2 separate regions of the Homo sapiens genome follow, and region 2 is linked to region 1. Evidence: promoter capture Hi-C in human tissues and cell types (Jung and others, 2019). All regions are on one chromosome and are shown on one strand. Each heading gives the region's core, a stretch centred on a gene start or on the middle of the fragment in contact. The rest is flanking DNA. Distances are from core to core; before and after follow the strand shown.

Evidence for each region. The method cuts DNA at HindIII sites, captures the fragments that hold promoters and counts their contacts. A contact is called where the count stands out against the background at its distance.
Region 2: a contact is called between a fragment that was not itself captured here and the fragment with the promoter of GABRG3 in region 1, in 1 of the 25 tissues and cell types used here (dorsolateral prefrontal cortex).

The regions. Positions count from the first base shown.
Region 1 is chr15:26,966,447-26,973,610 of GRCh38, forward strand. It overlaps GABRG3 (gamma-aminobutyric acid type A receptor subunit gamma3), which reads left to right and starts at 4,735. Exons shown (of 10, transcript NM_033223.5): 1 at 4,735-5,142. The coding sequence starts at 5,090. The HindIII fragment of the contact is 15,270 bases long and covers 1-7,164 here.
Region 2 is chr15:27,707,653-27,714,816 of GRCh38, forward strand. No RefSeq gene overlaps it. Among named protein-coding and RNA genes, the nearest start is that of OCA2, 390 kb to the right of the region's middle. RefSeq lists an enhancer at 6,051-7,164. The HindIII fragment of the contact is 5,648 bases long and covers 1,516-7,163 here.

The sequences.
Region 1 (7,164 bases), core at 3,485-5,984:
ATGGTAAACAAAAAAATATGAAAACACAAAAGAGCTTCTACAAATAAAAAGAAAGCCAACAGTCTAGTTTTAAAATGGGCAAAAGACTTAAATGACACTTCATAAAAGAAGATATTCCAATGGCTGGTAAAAATTTGAAAGAAGTTCTATGAAATCAAAACCAGAATGAAATACCAGAATGGCAGGCCAGGCGCGGTGGCTCATGCCTGTAATCCCAGCACTTTGGGAGGGCCGAGGTGGTGGATCACGGAGGTCAAGAGATCAAGACCATCCTGGCCAATATGATGAAACCCCGTCTCTATTAAAAATACAAAAAAATTAGCTGGGTGTGGTGATGTGCGCCTGTAGTCACAGCTACTCGGGAGGCTGAGGCAGGAGGATTGCTCGAACCCGGGAGGCAGAGGTTGCAGTGAGCCGGGATCGCGCCACTGCACTCCAGCCTGGTGACAGAGCGAGACTCCGTCTAATAGAAAAAAAAAAAAAAGAAATATCAGAATGGTGACAAAAATAATGGCAAGGCCACATTTCATCAAGGGTATACACCAGAACTCATATATTGCCAATGCGTGATGAATATAACTGCTTTAGAAATCTCTGTAGTAATATTTATAATCATGAAACACATGCCTTCCTTGTGATCTGGACATTCTATTTTCAGTCAGATAACCAAGAGAAATGAACACATATGTCCATCAAAAGACAAGAATATTCATGTTAGCTTTATTCATAACATCCCAAAGTTTCAAACCCAAAAATCCATTGGCATAGGAACAAATAAATAACGTGTGGTGTATTCACACAATGAACTATCATGCACAGCAGTAAAAAGTAATGAATGACTGGTAATGTAGCAATAAGGGTACATCTCACAGACACTGCACTGAGTGAGAGAAGCCGGAGGCTAAGTGGATAATACTGCATGACCACATGTATGCGAGGTGCAAGACTGGGCAAAACCAGGCTTCTGTGGCCAAAGCCTGAATAGTTGGTTACCCAGTGTCGGCACTGACTTGAAGATGGCCCAGCCACTGGGAATTACATAATTATATATTTGTTATATATAATAATCCAGATGCTATACATATGCTATTCATATACATATGGTATACACATGCGAAATAGTTCACTGAGCCATACTTTTAAGATCGGTGCATTTTTGTTGTGTGTGCATTATCCCTTGATAGTACCGTTTTGATTGACAAGGGAAAGGCGCTTTTTCAAAATATAAAACCACGAAACATCATGTAACCCAGAAGTACAGTTTTGGGAGTGGGAGAGATGTTTCTCAAAGCAGAACCTGGGGCAACCACGGAGCAGCGGATGCGCGCTGAAGGGCGCGTGGGCAGCGGGGTGGTTCCGCGGCCTGCGGGGCGCAGCGCGCCACCGCGGGATCTGAAAGGCGCTTCCTGGCAACGCTGCTAGGGTCCCGCCGCCCCCGCCGAGGTGAAGTCCAACCCGCAGCTGCGCGGGCAGCCCAGGTCTTCCCCAGAACCTCCGGAGCCGAGGACCCAGCGCCAAGCCAGGAGCAAAGCAGCGCGCCAGGCTGGAGCTGTTCCGTCATTACCGCCACGTCTGCGCTTCGGTTGTGAGAACCGATTCGTTACCCTAACCTCTTAGGACTAAGAGCCAGTCTTCTGGTGGCGCTCGCTTTCACTTACTTTTTATTTCCCTTTCTATTCCCGCGAGCTAGGGGGAGAAAGTGTAAATCCCGCCCGCTTCTCCAGGGCTGAAAATGGAGAGGCTGAGGCGGCTTGGAGAGTGCGCACTGCGCATGCTCCGCAGAGCATCCCCGCAGGTCAACCGGGGCAAGGGAGAGACATGAAAGCCTGTGGCTTCTCCTTTGAAGATTCTTTTTTTTTTTTTTTTTTTTTTTTTGAGACGGAGTCTCGCTCTGTCGCCCAGGCTGGACTGCGGACTGCAGTGGCGCAATCTCGGCTCACTGCAAGCTCCGCTTCCCGGGTTCACGCCATTCTCCTGCCTCAGCCTCCCGAGTAGCTGGGACTACAGGCGCCCGCCACCGCGCCCGGCTAATTTTTTGTATTTTTAGTAGAGACGGGGTTTCACCTTGTTAGCCAGGATGGTCTCGATCTCCTGACCTCATGATCCACCCGCCTCGGCCTCCCAAAGTGCTGGGATTACAGGCGTGAGCCACCGCGCCCGGCCCCTTTGAAGATTCTTAACCTTGCATTTTGCTTTCACACTTAACGCCTAGAAAGCTTGCTTTGATTTTTCCCCAACCTTTCAGCTCATTTAGCTTTAAAAAACAAAATCTCGTTCCAGGAAGAGGGGAGGGGCTTTCCAAGAGAAAATGTTCAGACGTATCAAGTTGACCTACTCAATCTAATAAATGAAGCGAAGCATTCCAAAGGCCAGAGGGGATCATCTTGCATTCATTCATAATAGCACGTTGAAATATGCAAGAAAGGAAAAGAATAAAGAACACAGGGATGTAAAAACAGTATTGCGTTTTCTTGTTCACTGATTGAATTGTAAAAAAAATAATAACAACAAACAAATCTCAGGACACTTCTTGTTTACTGATATTTTACAAAATCACTCAAGTAACAGTCTATTTCTATTATAAACAACTTGTGAGTATTTTAACTCATGCTCAAAAAATAAATAATATGGTAAGAAGTCCAAAACTTTCATCAACTAGCCCAACAACAAATGTCAGCTGAGCACCTACTCAGGCAGACAGTATGGTATAGTGATTAGGAATGAAACATTGGAGCCAGCTGCCTGGCTTTTAACCCCCAGTCCTCACCTACTAGCTGTGTGATCCTGGGGTAAGCGACTTAACTTCTCTGTGCTTTTTCTCTATATGCGAAACGGAAATAATGTTGTGAGAGTTAAAATGAGTTAATCAATGTAAAGCCTTCCTGTCGGCCCTGGCCCCTGTTATGTGATCAATGTCAGATGGTTATTTTTACTTATGTTCCTATTACTGTGTTAAGAAGGGAAACACAAAAGAATTGTTTCTACTTGCAGCATTCTTGCAGCACACTCAGGCGTGGTGGCTCATGCCTGTAATCTCAGCACTTTGGGAGGCCGAGGCGAGCAGATTACTTGAAGTCAGGAGTTGCAGAAGAGCCTGGCCAACATGGTGAAACCCCATCTTTACTAAAAATACAAAAATTAGCCAGGCGTGGTGGTGGGTGCCTGTAATCCCAGCTACTCAGGAGGATGAGGCACGAGAATCACTTGAACCCGGGAGGTGGAGATTGCAGTGAGTCCAGATGACACTACTGCACTCCAGCCTGGGCGATAGAGTGAGACTCAAGTCTCTTATGTGGAGACGACATAAGCAATGAAGGAACAATAAATCATCATCTAACTGATTTTTAAAGTGCTCAGATTTTGGTACAGAAAATTAGAGATTAGGGCAGAGTATGATAAAGGCTCATATTCCCCTGAAGCCTAAAGGAGTGGTACAGGTGTTGGAAGTGGAAGAATGCAGGAGCGTCAGAGTCTTCATCAAAGAGGGGACCTTATAGGGCATGTGCACCTAAGTAGGAGGGATGTGCTGGGCAGAGGAGGATGAGAATGCCAGAAAGAGTCCTGGAAAGGCGGGGAGCTGGGTGAGTTCAGCACCTCACAGAGACAGAAAGGTGATGCCAGGGAGATGACAGCTCCATTGTTGAAAAACAATATTGTCATTAACAACTGCACTCCCCTCCACTTCATGCCTATCCAGAAACAAGGGGGAACACACCAGAGGAATACAGGCCCATGCCACCATGCCCAGCTAATTCTTTACTATTTTTTGTAGAGACAGGGTTTTTGCACATTGCCTAGGCTGGTCTCGAACTCCTGGGGTCAAGTGATCCGCCTGCCTCGGACTCCCAAAGTGCCGGGGTTACCGGCTTGGGCCACTGTGCCTGGCCGAACAAAGCTATTTGACAATATTAAAGAAACAGTTATCACACCCTTACATAATTCTATGAATAGCAGTTATAAAACATTTTCTAAGAACTTTTTGGGGGTGATAGAAATGTAAAATTCCTAGTGGATTTACTACACTGTTGCGATTGCAATACTTACATGGTGCAAGACTAACTTTCTGAATGATTATGACAAATGAAAGCGTAAATGCCATTTTCGGTTTTTGGAATATGAAAATACATGGAATGAGGCGCACCTCATGCTTCCACCAAACGGAACGTCTTTGGCTTCTTGCCTTAGGATCTTTCTAGCTCCTACCTTTAACATGCCTTTCCACCTCTACTGTTTATTGCTATGTGTTAGTCTCTCTTTTCTGTAAGAAAGGCATAAATCTGGGGTGCTTTTTTCCCAAATATTCCCGCAGAAAGCCACCTTTCCAAGCACAGAATCTTATCAGTGCCTAGGAGTTCAGCCGACTTAGCACGAAGAGTGCGATGGAAGGGCTGCTTTTGGCAAACCGTCTCAACCCCGGGCGACGGCGGGCACGGGAGGTCAGGGAGCGCTGGAGGAAACCTGCACTGGGGTAGAAATGGCTGGAGGAAGGCGGACCGCGGGCTCGCTCTCATGGTGCCAACCCCGGGGACCTTTCTTCAGGCTCCCTGCGGGATCCCCAGCCTCCCCTCCCCCTCGGAGCTCCGCCCCCTTCCTGGCCTCAAACTCCGAGTCCATTCAAACCTCGCCTTCCTCGCCCTGCGCGTTGTCAGGCGTGTAATTGGGGAAACTCCTCCCCGCCGGGACCGCCTCGGAGGCGCTGCCAGGGGACAGCCGCCCAGCTGCCCCCACCTCCCAGCACAGCGCACACAGCCCCGGCCTGGGCACCCGCGCCCGCTCGCGGCTCCAGGCGGGGTGGGCGGCGCCGCGCCAGGGGGTCCCCGGCGCCCATTGCTCCCGCCGCCCGGTTGCGCGGACCGGCGCTAGTGCGCGGGTGGGGGCGGCGCGCCGCGGTGGCCCGGCGTCCCGTGTGCGTCCAGTGTGCGCCCCGCGGGGGCGCGGCCAGCGCCAGAGTAGATACCTGTCCCGCCCGCCGCGGCCAGCAGCCTCGGAGGAAGCCAGGGCAAAGAGGGCCGGCGGAGACCAGGTCCGCGCCGGAGGAAGCCGCGCCCGGCCGAGGCCCCGGACCCTGCGCCCCGAGCTCCACGGCACCATGGCCCCGAAGCTGCTGCTCCTCCTCTGCCTGTTCTCGGGCTTGCACGCGCGGTAAGTGGCGCGGGGGCCGCATCCCCGGAGGCCCCGAGCTGGGCGACAGGGCGGCGGGGGGCGCTGTCTGCTGGAGTCCCTGGCGCGCCAGCCGTCGGCTGGGCTGCGGCACGGCGGGCCGGGAGGGGACTGGGAAGTCGGTCTGCACCTCACCTGTCCCAGCTCCCTTGGACACGGTCATCTGCTTTTTCCTCTGCAGCCGGGAGTGTGGGGACTCAGATTAATGGGCTCGTCTCCTGACGCTTTTAGGATCTGGTGGTTTTAAGGGGTTTTGAGAACCAGGTTCAGGGGGCAGGGGCCATTTCTGGCTCCTTACCGACCCCTAATTCCCACCTCAGCTGTTTCAGGGGCTCACACACACACACACTTTGGCTGACATTCTCTGTCATTTCCATCACTCTGAAATTTCCAAGAACCCGGGAACCGTGGTTCTAACTGCCTAGTTTAGACCGGGCTGGAAAGAGCTAATGCATTGGAGGCAGGCGCGGGGGGATTGGAACCAGGTGGGCAGAAGAAAGCCCTGCTTGTCTGGGAGGACTCCCCTCCCAGGTCCTGCAAACACACACACACACCTTCCACATCAGCCACTTTCACACAGAGGAACACACGCACTCCCACCCCCATAAAGCACGCATGTCGAAATGGATAATAAGGCTTCTGCCTGGTAATGTAAGAAATCATCTCACCATAAATTCCGCAACCTTCCTCCCAGTACACCAACCGGCTAATGGGAGCTTAGAATCACTCTAGAAGAGATGAAGAGGGCGCATGAGGATACAAGGACAGTGGGACCCAAAGGGTTAAATCCTGTTGCTGTAAACACAACTGGAGATTCTGGGTTTAGTTTCTTTAATTCTGTCTCTCTGGCTGGATTTCTGGCTAGAGCTTGCAGACTGTCCTGTTATTTGAAAATTGGAGCAGTGTCTGGCCTTTACCTCTTTCCCCACCCTAGGAAGCTCAGCGTGCCCCTATCCCCCAAACCCTCTTGTTTTGACGCTTCTCCATTTCCTGGGTCTGGGAGCTAGAGAATCAGAGGGCATCCTTGCGTGCACAAGCCTGGCCACCATCAGGAGGCAATGCCAGGAGGCCTTGCCTTTTCATTCCTATTTGTGAACTACCAAGGAGCTAGGAAGACACATGAATAAATCCTACTAAACATGAAGGGGGCCCCCAGTTCTCACTCCTGAATTGGGCAGGGGTGCTTACCCTGAGGAAGGAAGCCCTGGCCCTCCCCCTTGCAACTGCTCCTCTTTGCTGAGTTGAGTGTGGAAGCCGACTCCACCGGTGACTCACAGGCAACTCTTTCAAAGAGACAGAGCACTCCTTGGGCCTTTCAGCTGAAGTTTCTTTCTGTCTCAAGAGGCAGCTGGTGCAAGCAATGGAAACATGCTTTCTGAGGTTGCTTCTTCCTGGTTGTATCTCTGTTTAGAGATGGAGAGGGAGGCAGACAGCACCGGGCATAACGCTGAGGCCGGCAGTCACATCTCTGCCACCTTTCTATTGCCACCAACTCAAACGAGTGACCAGCCGTTCAGGGTTCAGTAATCAACTGTTTAGGTCTCTGGATTCTTAACATTCTAGAAGAAACACTGCCTATTGTCCTCACTACTGCATGTGCTTAGTAGGAAGATACCTCAGCCTCTGCCTTAAAACAGTCCGGTTACTGGGGATTCCCAAATATACACAAAATCTCTTGGGATTCTTCATCCTTCCATTCTACTAAGACAGACATAATGATTTTCATTTGTTCTCTATTTGGGCTCGTTCCCCAGCTTTCATAATAGAGCTTGCAGATCAGTTAAAAAATCCAAATTTTATACTAACTTTATTGCTATATGCCTCTTCTTTGAGAGTGTCTTTGTTCTCTGAATGGGTTTTACAGACATGTGAAATAATCTGATGTGCAGTGTCATCTTTCAAAACTGTTTTAAATTTGGAGGGGTTTCTCATTTGCACTCTGAGTCCCTTCCTGCTGTGGAAGTTCCTTGGATAAGGGTCTGATGGCTGTGCTTTGTGGTGATG
Region 2 (7,164 bases), core at 3,090-5,589, 740 kb after region 1:
TTATTGCTGGGTGCAAGGAGACTTTCTGGGCAGCCCTTAAACTTCCGGAAATGCAGACTCTAAGGAGAAAGACTGCAAAGTTCTTCAAAGTGGCAGAGGGGCTGCTCAAGACTAAGGAGGTCCCAGTCATCCTCTGCCCAGGCCAGCCCCAGCTCCTCAGCATGGCCACCAGCCCAGCGTGGGAATCTGGGGCACTCTCCACCCCACCTCCTGCCCCAGGTGGCACCCACAACCACTTCTTAGCCTTTGCCAGCCTGACCCATGGCCAGAGTGGACCAGGCTCCACTACCTTCATTGTTACAGGACTCTGCCCAAGACATTTCTGAATGAGATTAAGATATTACATATTACCCAAGACAGCACTCAGTGTGCAGGCTTCATCCCACTGATCAACCTTCCCCTAGTAGTGTCGTCCACTTACAAACCCTCCTGTCTGTTGTTTCAGTGGGGTTGAACAATTCCCACTGCAATAATCTGAATACATTAGTTCTTGCCTTTATAACTTTGTCAGGTACAATTTTTGCCTTGACAGTGTCATAAGCTATAACTTCTAAAGGAGATGCCAAACACCCTCTCTCTCCTGTTACTTCATCAAAATATCACCCCTGTGAGTCTGGAAAGCTTCAGAGTTTTGTACTAAATCTCATTAAATATAAGCCTTCAGCACCTGTCAGCCCATCTGCTCCTACCCAGCTTCAGCCTTTCCCTTTATGTTGTCATTGTCACAAATTACATCTTTATACATTGTGTGCCCATTAGCAAAGATTTATAATTATTGTTTTATAAATGTGTCCTTTAAATCATACAGGAAACAAAGAGGAGCTACAATCCAGAATAATGTTAGCTTTTATATTTATCTATGTAATGACCTTTACCAGACTTTTTTATTTCTTTGTATAGATTTGAGTTACTGTGTAGTAACTCAAGCATCTAATAACTAGCAGCCTTTCTTTTACACCTCAAGTACTCCTTGTAGCATTTCTTATAAGGCAGGTCCACTAGCAACAAGTTCCCTCAGGTTTTGTTTTTCTGGGATAGTATTAAGTTCTCCTTCACTTTTGAGGTATACTTTTGCTAGATATAACATTCTTAGTTGATAGATTATTTTTTCCTCTCAATGCTTTAAATAATATCACCACACTGCCATCTGGCCTCCATGTTTTTTTCTGTTAATGTTATTGAGGATCCCTTGTATGTAACTGGTCATTTCTCTCATGTGACATTCAAGATTCTCTTTGTCTTTTGCTTTTGACAGAACTATAAAATACCCAGTTATGGATCTCTTTATCATTCTTGGAGTTTGTTGAGCTTCTTGGATGTTTAAATGCATGTCTTTTATCAAGTTTGGAAATTTTGAGCATTATTTCTTCCAATATTCTTTCTTCACAATTCTTTCTCTTCTCCTGATACTCCCATTACCTGTATGCAGTGAATTTTCATTTCAGTTATGGGGCTTTTGAGCTCCAGAATTTCTGACTGGTTCTTTTTTTACCACTTGTCTTTATTGACAGTTTCTATCTATCTATTGAGACATTAGTCTCTTTATTTCCTTTACTATTTGTCCATGATTTTCTTAGCTCTTTCAGCATTTAAGACAGTTGATTTAAAGTTTATTTCTAGTAAGTCCAATGTCTGTGTTTCCTCACAACAATTTCTTTTAATGTTTCCCCTAAATAGAGCATGATTTCCTGTTTCCTTGTATGCTTCATACTTTTTGTTGAAAACTGGACTTTTTAAATATTATAATACGGTAACTCAGGAAATAAGTTTCTTCCCCCTCCTCAGGGTTTGTTTTTGTTGCTTGTTTTGGGTTATAATTGTTTGATAACTTTTCTAAACTATTTTTATAAAGTGATATGGTTTGGCTCTGTGTCCCCACCCAAATCTCATCTCGAATTATAATCTCCACATGTTGAGGGAGGGACAGGGACCAGCCATGTGGAACTGTGAGTCAATTAAACCTTTTTCTTTATAAATTACCCAGTCTCAGGTAGTTCTTTATAGCAGTGGGAAAATGGACTAATACATAAAGACTGTATTCTTTGCCATTTGTGGTCTCTGATGTCTCTGTTCCTCTAGCTTGCAGTCAGCTAGTGTTTTTGACAGAGATTCTTTGAATGCCTAAAGCCAGAAAACAAAATGCAAAAACAAGAAACCTCTCACAGTGTTTGCAGAATGGCCCTTTATTGGACACTCCTTCAGTGCTGAGCCCAGCCATTTACAATTCTGTGTTAGCCTTCACTACCTGCTGACACCAGCCTTAAAGGTTAGCCAGAAGTAGAGGTTTAGAGTCTTCTTGAGTCTTTTCTGAGCTTATTTCCTTCCCTGGGCATGCTGTGGCTTTCTAAATACCCTGGAATACATAGGTGCTTTTCAATACTCTAATCTGCCAAAGAATCTCTCTTTTAAGCTTTTCATCCCAGGATTTTGGTATGTCTTTTGTTTGCCTGAAATGTAGTATTTTCCCAAGTCACTAGAAGGTGGCTCACTTGCCTTTCAATGTTCCTGAGGAATGCTCTCAGCATAGCCACTTTTCTGCTCTTAGAGAGTTCCAAGTTAAGCGAAACGAAGACAAGCACATTGCATCATTCCTTCAGGTAACACCCAGACAGATCAAAACAGACAAAGATAATTCTTTGAGAAAAGTTCTTCTCTGTTTCCTCTGAAACCAATGACTAGAGTCCCACAGTCAAAACATGGGCTTCCATCTTCAAGAGCAATGACCAGCTAGGGAGGGAGGTAAAACAAGGGAAAATAAAAATGCCACAAATCTCTCCTACTGTTTTTATATTGCCTCAAAAAAAGAAAATAAAACAAACTTGGCTGGTGTAAATCTTTGACCATTTTCTAGAATTCGGATAAAGTAGATCCTCACAGATTTTCTCATTATTTCAGCATTTCTGTGAAGGGTCTAGCTAGCCTTAGAGCTACCCACTCTGCCATTTTTGCTAACATGACTCCAGAAGTGATGCCTACTGTTTACCTACTGCATTGTGGTTGGCAGAATAATGGCCACTTAAAGATGTTCATGCCCCAATACCCAGAACCTGTGAATATGTTACCTGGCAAAGGGATTTGCTCTTGTGATTAAGATTACAGGCTTTTATATGAAGAAAATTTTTCTGGATTGTCCTGGATGGGCCTAATCTAATCACATGAAGCCTTTGGAAATGGGGAATGACCCTCAACTCACAGCTAACAAGAAAAGAGGTATCTCAGTCCTACAACTTCAGGCAACTAAATTCTGCCAAGAAAAAAAAAATCAAAAATCACATCTTTCTTTTGAGCCTCCAGAAAGGAATGCAACCCTGCCAACACACTGATTTTAGCTTGATATGACCAGTATTGGACTTTTGACCACAGAACTGAGAGATAATGAATTTGTGTTATTTTAAGCCATTTAGTTTGTGGTTATTTTTCAAGGCAGCAATAGAAGATTCATACAGGCTATTGGTACCTGGAAATGGTACCTGGAAATGGAATGCACCTGTAACAAACACCTAACTATACAGAAGTGGATTTAAAATTGGATATTGGTCAGAGGTGAGAAGAATTTTGAGGAGCATAATAGAAAAAGCCTCCGTTGTCTTAAACAAACTATTCATGAATGTTAAATACTTCCAATGAAGGCTAAGAAGAAAGTGAGGAGCATTATAGAAAAAAAGTAAATCACCTTAGAGAATACCTAAATCTGCATGAACAGACCATTGATAGAAAAAATGGACATTAAAGGTGCTGGTGTTAAGAGCTCAGAAGGAAGTAAAGAATATATATTGGAAATTGGAGGAGAGGTAATGCTTCTTATAAGTGGAAAAAAGCCTAGCTGAATTATGTCACAGTTTTGTGACAAGAAGAACCTGTAAACAATAAAATTAGATATTTAGAAGAGAGATTTTCAGGCAAAATGTTAAAGATGTGTTCTGTTTTTTTTCTAGCTGCTTATAGTAAAAGGCAAGATGAAACAGATAAATTGAAGGAAGAGCTATTAAACAAAAAGGAACTAGAACTTGATGGTGTGGGAAATTCTCAGCATGTCTGAACAGTGAGACGCATTAAAATTAAAAGATTTACTATCAGGAAAGCATACTCTAGAGAAATGGCTTAAAGTAAACCCCTTTGAATGATCAAAAAGTCAGTTTTCAGTTACACAAAGGATCTTTGAAAACATTAAGGGTAGGACTCACAGACCCCCCAAATCAAGCTACAGAGCATCTAGGAAATGTAACAACATCGTCCCTTGGCCATCTTGACAAAAACCAAAAATTGAGATGAAATTATCTAGAAAAGATTTGTGGACACGCCACTTGTCTAATGGAGTGAATCACCATGATATACACAAAAGACACACACGGTTCCTGAGAATTTTTTATCAGCAGAAACAGTGCCAGCTTGGACTGAAAGGGTTGGGGAGAGTACAAAAGAAAAGAAAGCTGTTGAACATGAGAGAATAACTTGGACTCTCCAGATTCCACAGGCAAGAAACTGGATGATAAAATTACTCAGCTGAGAGTGTAAGTTACCTTTCATTAAGAAAGATTAACTCAAACGGGAGATCTCAGAGTGTAGAGAGTGGAGTCAGAGGCTCAAAAGGTGGAGCTTGAGGAACACAGGGTTATTTCTAAGCCTTGACACATAATGGAGTTTTCCTTGGCTGGATTTGAACCCAATGACTTCTTTATTTCTTCCATTTCCTCCCTCTTTGAATAACAATGTCTATAACCCTTATCCTACTGTATTTGGGGAGCAGATAACTTATTTCTGTAGTTTAACAGTTTCACAGATAAAAAGAAATTTTGTCCTAAGATGGATCATACCAGATCCTTACCCATACTTAATTTAGACAATTTAGATAATGATACCTGAGACTTTTGAGCTGATGATATTTAAACAATATTTTTAGATTTTGAGTTGATTTTTTAATTGGATAAGACTTCAGGGAACCTTGGGACTGGGTGGATGTATATTTGCAACTGGGACAGGTGTGACTATTTGGAGGCTAGCGGACAGACTGCAGTAGTCACAATAGTCCTTCAGAGGAGTCCATGACTTCCTCCTTGGGCTTTGTGAATATGTTACCTTACGCAGCAAAAAGGATTTTCAGATGTGATTAAAGATTTGAGGAGGAGATATTATCCTGGATTTTATATCCAGGATATAAAATCCTGGCCCAGGATTTTTTTGTGGGCCCAATTAATCATATGTGTCCTTAGAAGGCGAGAGTCTTTCTCAGCAGTGGTCAAGGTAAGATGTAACGGGGAAGAGGAGGCAGCCTGCTGGTGCTGGCTATAAAGATGGAGGAGGGGCCATGAGCCAAGGAAAGCAGGGAACCTTTAAAGCTGGCAATGGCCCCAACTCTCAGTCAACATGCAAACTTGAATCTAAACCCTACAACCACAGGAATCTGAATTTTGCTAGCAACCTGAATAAGCAAGGAAATGGATTCTTCCCTAGATCTCCCGAAAGGAAGGCAGCTCTGTCAACACCTTGGTTTTAGCCTGGAGCAGCCAGTGTTGGACTTCTAATCCACGTTAACTTTAAGAAAACAAATTTGCATTGTATAAGCCACTAAAATTCAGGCAGCAATAAAAAAAATAATGCACATATTTTCAGTAGGACAAGCAATCAAACTTTTGGGCAACTGCTTGTACTATATATGTTTAAATATAAAACCTGTCACCATTGCTATAAAATAAAAGCTTAAGCACAGATATTTTTCCTTCTTAGACTTACTAATGCTTAAAATTCATGGCCACACAATGATGATTGTCTCCCTGATAAAGACACAAAAATGTACTTTCTGTTCTCCTCTTTCATCCACTCATCTAGCACATTATTGTGTGCCTGCTGCATGCCAGGCAATGTGCTGTGTGCTATGGAGACTGAAAACAACAGTATGGACATGGCTTTGCCACCTCTGGATGTCACAGGTTCACGAGAATACAGATAACCCAGTAAGCAGTGATAAACAATTTTTTTCAATTGCTCACATCCAGTCTCTTCAAAAAATCTCGTTTATTGCTTTTAGAATCACATTTAATCACATTTAAATTTTCTATACTTTTTAAGAATTCCACTACATAATTCCTACAAACCTAAATCTCTTTTTCCCCTAACACTTTCCTTCATGATTTACTTTGTAATTATAGTGGATCTCAAATTTTAGCTTAAATTAGAATCATCTGGAGGATTTGGAGAAACTCTAGCCCCACCACTTAGAGGTGAAGCTGGCTGGGCTTCTGGGTCAGGGGGACTTGGAGAACTTTTTTGTCTAGCTAAAGGATTGTAAACACACCAATCAGCGCTCTGTGTCTAGCTAAAAGTTTGTAAATGCACCAATCAACACTCTGCAAAAACGGACCAATCAGCACTCTGTAAAATGGACCAATCAGCACTCTGTAAAATGGACCAATCAGCAGGATGTGGGCGGGGCCAAATAAGGGAATAAAAGGCCACCTGGGCTGCAACGCAACTTGCTCGAATCCTTTTTCCGGAATGTGGAATCTTTCTTATTTTCCTTTTCACAGTAGATCTTCTTGCTTCTCACTTTTTGGGTTCGGATTTCCGTTAAAAGCTGTAACACTGGGAGAGTCTGCGGCTTCACTCCTAAATCAGGAAGACCACGAACTCCTCGAGAGAAGCGAACTCTGGACGTGACACTTTTAGGAGCTGTAACACGGCAAAGGTCTGTGGCTTCATTCCTAACGTCAGAGAGACAACAAACTCACCGGGAAAAATGAACAACTCCGGACCCGCCACCCTTAGGAGCTGTAACACGGCCAGGGTCTGCGGCTTCACTTCCGAAGTAAGCAAGACCACGAACCCACCAGAAGGAAGAAATTCCGGACACATGTGAAAGGAACAAACGACTGACACACCATTTTTAAGAACCGCAACACTCACTGCGAGGGTTCGTGGCTTCGTTCTTGAAGTCTGTGAACCCAAGAACCCTCCGCAAGGAACCAGTTCCAGGCCCACGGCTAGACTTTCTTATTCAGCATACCGGGGGCAGGGAAAAAAGAGATACTCAATATTTATATCTTTAAGAATGTTTAAACGCTGGTATAGCTGAAATTGGGAACCAACGTCTTGAAACCCACTGTTCTAATAAAAAACAGATGGATGCAAAAGGACAATGCGTTGACACTCCAAGTCGACCTGGTGGTG